Regions from separate parts of the Homo sapiens genome. Here regions 2 and 3 are each linked to region 1. Evidence: promoter capture Hi-C in 16 types of primary human blood cells and fetal thymus (Javierre and others, 2016). All regions are on one chromosome and are shown on one strand. The core of a region is centred on a gene start or on the middle of the fragment in contact, and the rest is flanking DNA. Distances in the headings are between cores, read along the strand shown.

The links. The method cuts DNA at HindIII sites, captures the fragments that hold promoters and counts their contacts. A CHiCAGO score of 5 or more calls a contact.
Region 2: a fragment that was not itself captured here is called in contact with the fragment with the promoter of STMN4 in region 1 in 3 of 17 cell types (M1 macrophages, M2 macrophages and endothelial precursors); the score reaches 5.8 in M1 macrophages.
Region 3: a fragment that was not itself captured here is called in contact with the fragment with the promoter of STMN4 in region 1 in 1 of 17 cell types (M2 macrophages); the score reaches 6.9 in M2 macrophages.

Annotation. Positions count from the first base shown.
Region 1 is chr8:27,257,143-27,259,842 of GRCh38, reverse strand. It overlaps STMN4 (stathmin 4), which reads left to right and starts at 1,439. Exons shown (of 7, transcript NM_030795.4): 1 at 1,439-1,492. The HindIII fragment of the contact is 11,371 bases long and covers 1-2,700 here.
Region 2 is chr8:26,698,912-26,701,611 of GRCh38, reverse strand. No RefSeq gene overlaps it. Among named protein-coding and RNA genes, the nearest start is that of ADRA1A, 170 kb to the left of the region's middle. The HindIII fragment of the contact is 1,746 bases long and covers 551-2,296 here.
Region 3 is chr8:26,674,424-26,677,123 of GRCh38, reverse strand. No RefSeq gene overlaps it. Among named protein-coding and RNA genes, the nearest start is that of DPYSL2, 160 kb to the right of the region's middle. The HindIII fragment of the contact is 4,129 bases long and covers 1-2,700 here.

The DNA.
Region 1 (2,700 bases), core at 190-2,689:
GTGGCTCCCTCATTCCCTGAGGGAACTACAGAAGCCACCATCGCTGACCCGTCACCCCCCCTCAAGATTCCACCATATGGAAATGTAAACTAGTACAGTCACTATGGAAAACAGTGTGAAAAATTTTTAAAGAACTAAAAGTAAATCTACCATTTGATCCACCAATCCTACTCCTGGGTATCTACCCAGAGAAAAAGAAGTTATTGTACAAAAAAGATACTTGCACATGCATGCTTATAGCAGCATGATTCGCAATTGCAAAAATATAGAACCAGCCCAAATGCCCACCAATTAACAAGTGGATAAAGAAAATGTAATACACACACACACACACACACACACACACACACACACACACACCGTGGAATACTACTCAGCCATAAAAAGCAATGAAATAATGGCATTTGCAGCAACCTGGGTGGAATTGGAGACCATTATTCTAAGTGAAGTAACTCAGGAATGGAAAACCAAACATCATATGTTCTCACTCATAAGTGGGAGCTAAGCTAGGAGGGCGCGAAGGCATAAGAATGATACAAGGGACTTAGGAGACTTGGGGGAAAGAGTGGGAGGAGAGTGAGGGATAAAAGACTACTCACTGGGGACAGCGTACACTGCTCGGGTGATGGTGCACCAAAATCTCAGAAATCACCACTAAAGAACTTATTCATGTAACCAAACACCACCTGTTTCCCAAAAACTTACTGAAAATTTTAAAAAATCCACCATATTTGGGAATCACCAGTGTAATGACCAGTCCATCTTCCTACCTGTGGCTCCCTCTGGAAGGCCCAGGAGGGCTGGATGGGAGGGGCAGTGAGGACCCACTAGTGTCAGCAGAGATGTGGCTGATACCTTTGCAAAGGTGGCCAGAGGGAAGCCTTATTCTCCAGAGACTCCAGTGCAGGGCCCTCATCAGCTCCCAATCCTGGGGTTTTTGCAGTCCCCGCAACCCCCCGCCTTCTGAGTCATCGTTCAAACCCACCAGCCCTTCTGACAGAGCTGGAAACAGGCACCAAGCCCTCCAGGAAGCTATTTTTAGGGTTCATCTGTTCTTTTTTATTTCTTCTCTGGATTCCATATTCTCTCACCCCCAAATTTAAAGGACCTAAAGATCCTGGAAATCATTCATTATACCCCCAGCTCGCAAGCTGTGGCTTCTCCCCAACCTTCTCTGTACCACTCCCTCTTTCTTTCTTCCTCTCCGCCCTCACCCCTCTGGTTCTCCAGCTCCACAGGCAGCAGAGAAAGCAGGCTCTTTGTCTGACATCATCTTTCACTCCCTGGCCTGCTAAGAGTTACTCACTCAGGCAATCCCTGCTCCACCAGAGGAGACTGTCCAATTGCCAAGCAACCCACTGCTGGCCAATCACAGAGCTTGGAGGTGATGTCATGGCAAGAGCGAGCAGTGGTGCTGATGTTGAGAGAAGCCCAGGGTACCACTAATTGAGGGAGTGAGGAAGAGAGCAGCTCGCTTCTAACTGGACTGCACGTAAGTAGAAATAAAATGCAACTAATTTGAGGCTTTTCAGGCAAAAGAAAAAACAAGACAGCAGCTACAGTGGGGAGAAGCGAGGGGCCTAGCACCTATTGTGTCACCTTTGGTTCTACTCAATCATTTAAACTTTGTCAGATCTTGGGGGAAAGGGGGTGAGGCAGAAAGAATGGCGCTCGGCCAAGGGGTGAGGGTGGGCTCCGGGTGCCACTTTTATTCCAGAGCTCAGGAGAGGCAGGATGGGTGGGAATTGTCAGATGCTATGGTGAGCTATTTCTGCATAAAAATGTTTTGTTGCTTAAGGAGAAAGGTTTTGTGCTGAGTCTGGCTGCCCCTGCAGCTGGCTGTGACCTGAAGATCCCTTTCAAGTGGGAAGCTCTCCTGTGTTTTTACCTTTTCTTCCTCAGACACAGCTTTTCTTGTCTCCCATTCCCATTTTGATCACACATCTTTTCCTTCGGCTCTATGCACGGGTTACTTTTTTCTCTTGGTTCTAAGGATGCAATGAGATCATCACCTCCTCTTGGCCCCGCCCCACCCTGAGGTCAGCCTAATCCTACCTGGCCAGAGGTGGCTGGCTCCAAAGCTGAAAACTGCAGACACCCAGAACTGCCACGCCCTGGTCCTTGACTGGGGCCCTGGCCAGTCCCCCTCCTTATTCAGCCCACCACACTTGCCAGGAGTTTAGGCATCATTCATTTCTCATCCTGGGACCCAGGGTTTTGATGTCCAGCAGTCAGCTGTCCCCACGTGGCGGTGCTGTCTTTGTTTTATTTCTCCCAGGAAGACACAATCAGGTGTGGTGGAGTCTTGTTGTCCTGAACATGAGCAGGTCTCCAGAATGCTGTGTGTGTGTGTGTGTGTGTGTGTGTGTGTGTGTGTGTGTGTTTGTATGGGGGTCGGAGGGAGAGGTCAGGAATGTTCAGGCACCCTTATCTGAATGCCCTGGGAAGGGATACCCCCTGTCTTAAGACCAAGAGAATACAAGGTGGGATGGCCAGAGGTGGCCTGCTGAGGCTCGAGGGATGGGTGGGAGGTTGAGAGGGAATATGAGGGAATCTGTCTCCACCTGAGGCTGAGCCCCCGCCTCCCAGGGGGAGGAAACCTCTCCCACAGGCGGGTGCTAGGGGAATGAGATCATCCTTCAGATGAGGAAATAATCATAGTGCTGGAGCAGTGAGAAGGCAGAGGGGAAAAGGTCTGAT
Region 2 (2,700 bases), core at 174-2,673, 560 kb after region 1:
TGCAATAGTATAGTATGTTCCAAATGTACTAGTTGCAAGATTTCAGGAGACTGGGTTGCCAACAAGCTCAACAGAACCAAAGCACATAACTCCCCCAAATCCGATTGGTGATATCTCCTTTATTTCACCTGCTATGAACTACTGAGAACAACTGCAAGTTTGTTTGCAAATTTCCAAAGAACAGCTGGTGTTGCTCCCCTAAAGATGCACAGAGAGCCAAGATATCAGTTTCAATATGCACTGCCTGCTTATAAATAAAGTCAGCCCCATTAGAGATTTCTGCCAGTGTCTGTGAATACTCCACCTAGAGGGCATTTGAGTTTGCTACACACTTAAATACATTTCATCAGCTATAGTCACTTTTTGCTTCTTACAAAAACTTTAAGAGCTAGATTCACATTGCAGAGCTGCTGCTCAGGCTTTCAAGATTGAGAAAAAAAACTAAATGCTGTTATTCAGAAACCAATAGCAGACAACAAGAGAAATATTGGGGTGTACCTGTGTTGTTTCTTGCTGTCACTGGTACTGAAGCCGATGCATGATCAAAGCTTCATTTCCCTGCTTAAGTGCTGCTACCATTTTATTCACAGGAAATACACATGTAGGAGATGCTGGTGAGGATTCCTTCAAGTTTTGGGGAGAACTAAGCCACCCCATGTGATTAAATTCATATCCTAGGTATTGAAAATGATGGATGGATATTTCTTCTTTTTCTTTCTTTCTTTTTTTTTTTTTTTTGGAGACTGAGTCTTGCTCTGTCGCCCAGGCCGGAGTGCAGTGAGTGGCGTGATCTTGGCTCACTGCAAGCTCCGCCTTCCGGGTTCACGCCATTCTCCTGCCTCAGCCTCCCAAGTAGCTGGGACTACAGGTGCCCACCACCACACCCGGCTAATTTTTTTTGAGGCCTATTATTTTTTTAGAAAAGCCAGGAAATGTCATTCTATTGACTCTTCTGATTCCTTTTTCTTCCTCCAGTTCAGGACTTTCAAGGCTGCTGTACTTTGCTTTCAAAAATAGAACTTGAAACAAGTAGCTGTTGTGATTCGTTGACATGCTATAGATAACCATTCCAAACAAACTCTTGTAGTTTAGGGCTAGACATTTTGAAGATTTCTGTCAGTACTCACTACAGCAATCGCTAAATTGCTTTCAATTGAATCATGAATACTTCGTTAAGGCCAGTGCAAATCTCACAGTCAAAACGTTAATTTGCTTACAGGAAGTGGACCTGAAGCTATTTGAAAGAATTCTCAGAAAGAAGAATCAAAAGACACAGTCTCCAGTGTCCTAGTTCTAATCTTAGGAAGTGAAAGCACAGCTTCAATGCCTCATGCCACCTAAACCAGGAACAAAGGCAATTCACAAGCAACTCGGGAGGCTGAGGCGAGCAGATCATGGGGTCAGGAGCTCGAGACCAGCCCGGCCAACATGGTGAAACCTCGTCTCTACTAAAAATAAAAAATAAAAAATAAAAAAAATAGCTGGGCATGGTGGCGGGTGCCTGTAATCTCAGATACTGGGAAGGCTGAGTCAGGAGAATCATTTGAACCCAGGAGGTGGAGGTTGCAGTGAGCCAAGATCGCACCATCGCACTCCAGCCTGGAGGACAGGGCGAGATTCATCTCAAAAAAAAAAAAAAAAAAAAGAATATTGGATAGTGACCACATTTTTAAGAAGTGAAATTGGAGTAAGTAGTGAGGGGCAGGAATCAACAAGCATAAAACTTGGCTAAATTTCAACCCTGGCCTTACAGCATTGACAGAGGAAGGTTGCTGACACTGTTATCAATGTTTAGTACCGGAATCTCTTGTGCTTTCAACTGGTTCTCACAGACAGGTCATAGGATTCACCCCAGAGAGACTCTATGAACATAGAGGAAAGCCACCCGAGAGCAAATGTGGCCCAGTCTGTATCATTAAATCTAATCAGCCCTTACCAAGCTGAGAGAGCGTAGAGAGAAACTCTGAACTCTCCTCCAACAGTTAATATTTATTAATGAGCCCCCAACTCCAGTTCTCACAAACTAAGTGCTGTCAGAGGTGTAAGTGTCAGTAAAGCAGACAAAAATTACTATAATATTTTGTTGCACTTCAGCCATAAGCATAGTCACCAAGCACAGACACTTCCAAACGTTGATTTCACAGAGCTTCAAGTTGAAAGGAATCCATTTCAGGTGTCCCATGGAGGTGTACTTTCTATGAGGAAGGCAGGGGCTTTTGGCTGAAGAAATGGAGGAGTTTGTTGGTGCACTCCAACTTGAACGCATCCCTGACTTCCACAAATATGCACAGAAGCTTCTAAATATTTATCTGGATTTCTAGAACTGGAATTTAAGTTCTACTTGAAAGTCCTAGCGATCCACAGAAGCAAGCAATCCAATAGTAGCCGTTTGATTTTTTTAATATCAAAATAATAATAGTTAGCAAACAAACTCATTGTACTTAAAAGCTGGCTACAGTGAGCATTCAGAGGAGCTTCTAAATGGGATCTCATGCCATCAAAAACTAGAAGCAAAGCTCTGAACCCTTTGCAGTCCTCCCTAAAGTGTCAAGGAATCCACACCATCAATTCCTTGTATTTTCACATACTGCCAAAAAATGTCACAAGACTATGAATTTTCTAGCAGGGGAAAGAAAAGGCCTCCTGTAGCATTGAAAATGTCTTCTTGAGACTCCATTAAGCAAAGACCAACACTCACTG
Region 3 (2,700 bases), core at 126-2,625, 580 kb after region 1:
TGGTTGCCACTGCTTTTGGTGTTTTAGACATGAAGTCCTTGCCCATGCCTATGTCCTGAATGGTAATGCCTAGGTTTTCTTCTAGGGTTTTTATGGTTTTAGGTCTAACGTTTAAGTCTTTAATCCATCTTGAATTGATTTTTGTATAAGGTGTAAGGAAGGGATCCAGTTTCAGTTTTCTACATATGGCTAGCCAGTTTTCCCAGCACCATTTATTAAATAGGGAATCCTTTCCCCATTGCTTGTTTTTCTCAGGTTTGTCAAAGATCAGATTGTTGTAGATATGTGGCATTATTTCTGAGGGCTCTGTTCTGTTCCATTGATCTATATCTCTGTTTTGGTACCAGTACCTTGCTGTTTTGGTTACTGTAGCCTTGTAGTATAGTTTGAAGTCAGGTAGTGTGATGCCTCCAGCTTTGTTCTTTTGGCTTAGGATTGACTTGGCGAAGGACATGAACAGACACTTCTCAAAAGAAGACATTTATGCAGCCAAAAAACACATGAAAAAATGCTCACCATCACTGGCCATCAGAGAAATGCAAATCAAAACCACAATGAGATACCATCTCATACCAGTTAGAATGGCAATCATTAAAAAGTCAGGAAACAATAGGTGCTGGAGAGGATGTGGAGAAATAGGAACACTTTTACACTGTTGGTGGGACTGTAAACTAGTTCAACCCTTTTGGAAGTCAGTGTGGTGATTCCTCGGGGATCTAGAACTAGAAATACCATTTGACCCAGCCATCCCATTACTGGGTATATACCCAAAGGACTATAAATCATGCTGTTATAAAGACACATGCACACATATGTTTATTGCGGCATTATTCACAATAGCAAAGACTTGGAACCAACCCAAATGTCCAACAATGATAGACTGGATTAAGAAAATGTGGCACATATACACCATGGAATACTATGCAGCCATAAAAAATGATGAGTTCACATCCTTTGTAGGGACATGGATGAAATTGGAAATCATCATTCTCAGTAAACTATCGCAAGAACAAAAAACCAAACACCGCATATTCTCACTCATCGGTGGGAATTGAACAATGAGAACACATGGACACAGGAAGGGGAACATCACACTCTGGGGACTGTTGTGGGGTGGGGGGAGGGGGGAGGGATAGCATTGGGAGATATACCTAATGCTAGATGACAAGTTAGTGGGTGCAGTGCACCAGCATGGCACATGTATACATATGTAACTAACCTGCACATTGTGCACATGTACCCTAAAACTTAAAGTATAATAATAATAAATTTAAAAAAAAAAAGACAATAACAACTGTTGGCAAGAATGTGGAGAAATTGGAAAACTTATGTGCCATTGGTGGGAATTTGAAATGGTGCAGCTGCTATGGAAAACAGTATGGTGGTTCCTCAAAAAATTGAAAGTAGGATTACCATAAGATCCAGCAATTTCATCTAAGTATATACCCAAAAGATTTAACAGAAGGCACTCAAACAGATATTTATACACCCATGTTCATAGCAGCATTATCCACAATAGCCAACATGTGGAAGAAACCCAAGTGTCTATTGACCAACGCACAGATAAACAAAATGTGGTGTATACTCACAATGAAATGTTATTCGGCCTTGATAAAGGAGATTCTGACACATACTATAACATGGATGAACCTGGAAGATATTATGCTAAATTAAATAAGCCAATCACAGAAGGACAATGCTGCATGAGTCCACTAATATGAGATAGCTAGAGTAGTCAAAATCATACAGACAAAGTGGAGTGGTGATTGCCAGGAATGGGGGCCAGGGGGAAGGGGGAGCTGGTGCTTAATGAGGACAGAGTTTCAGTTTCACAAGATGAAAAAAGTTCTGGAAATGGGTGGTGGTGATGGTTGTACAAGAGTGTGAATATACTTTATGCCATTGAACTGCACACCTAAAAGTGATGACATGCTTAAAAATAAAATAAAATAGAGATGGCTACTAAGAGGTTAAGTCACAACCCTGAAGCCAGGAGATATTCTCACTCTAAAGGCCCCAGGTTCATGTTTTAATTTTCAAATACACAAAGGGGACCCTAAGAAACAGGCAACAGGAGGCCGGGCGCAGTGGCTCTTGCCTGTAATCCCAGCACTTTGGGAGGCCGAGGCGGGCAGATCACCTGAGGTCTGGAGTTCGAGACCAGCCTGACCAACATGGAGAAACCCTGTCTCAGCTAAAAATATAAAATTAGCCGGGCTTGGTGGCACATGCCTGTAATCCCTACTCAGGAGGCTGAGGCATAAGAATCACTTGAACCCAGGAGGCAGAGGTTGTGGTGAGCAGAGATCACGCCATTGCATTCCAGCCAGGGCAACAGGAGTGAAGCTCTGTCTCAAAAAAAAAAAGAAAGGAAGAAAAGAAACAGGCAACAGGAATTGACTTGCCCGTAAAGAAGAACATCTTGGCTGGGTGATGACAAGGTGCTCGTCTTAACATGGATAACTGGATGTTTATCGCAGGAATTTCATGCACCTTGGTGCATGCTGGTCCTGCTTGTCTCAAGGCAGGGATTCTCTTGCATAGATGGGATACTCTGTTCCCATCAGCCTCCTGCTTGCTCCGGGACAGGGATTCTCCTGCATAGATGGGATGCTCTGCTCCCATCAGCCTCTCTCAGTTTTACTCACGTTGTGACAGTGTCAAGTTCTCTAGTCCTGACTAAGAAGGGTTTAATTTCTT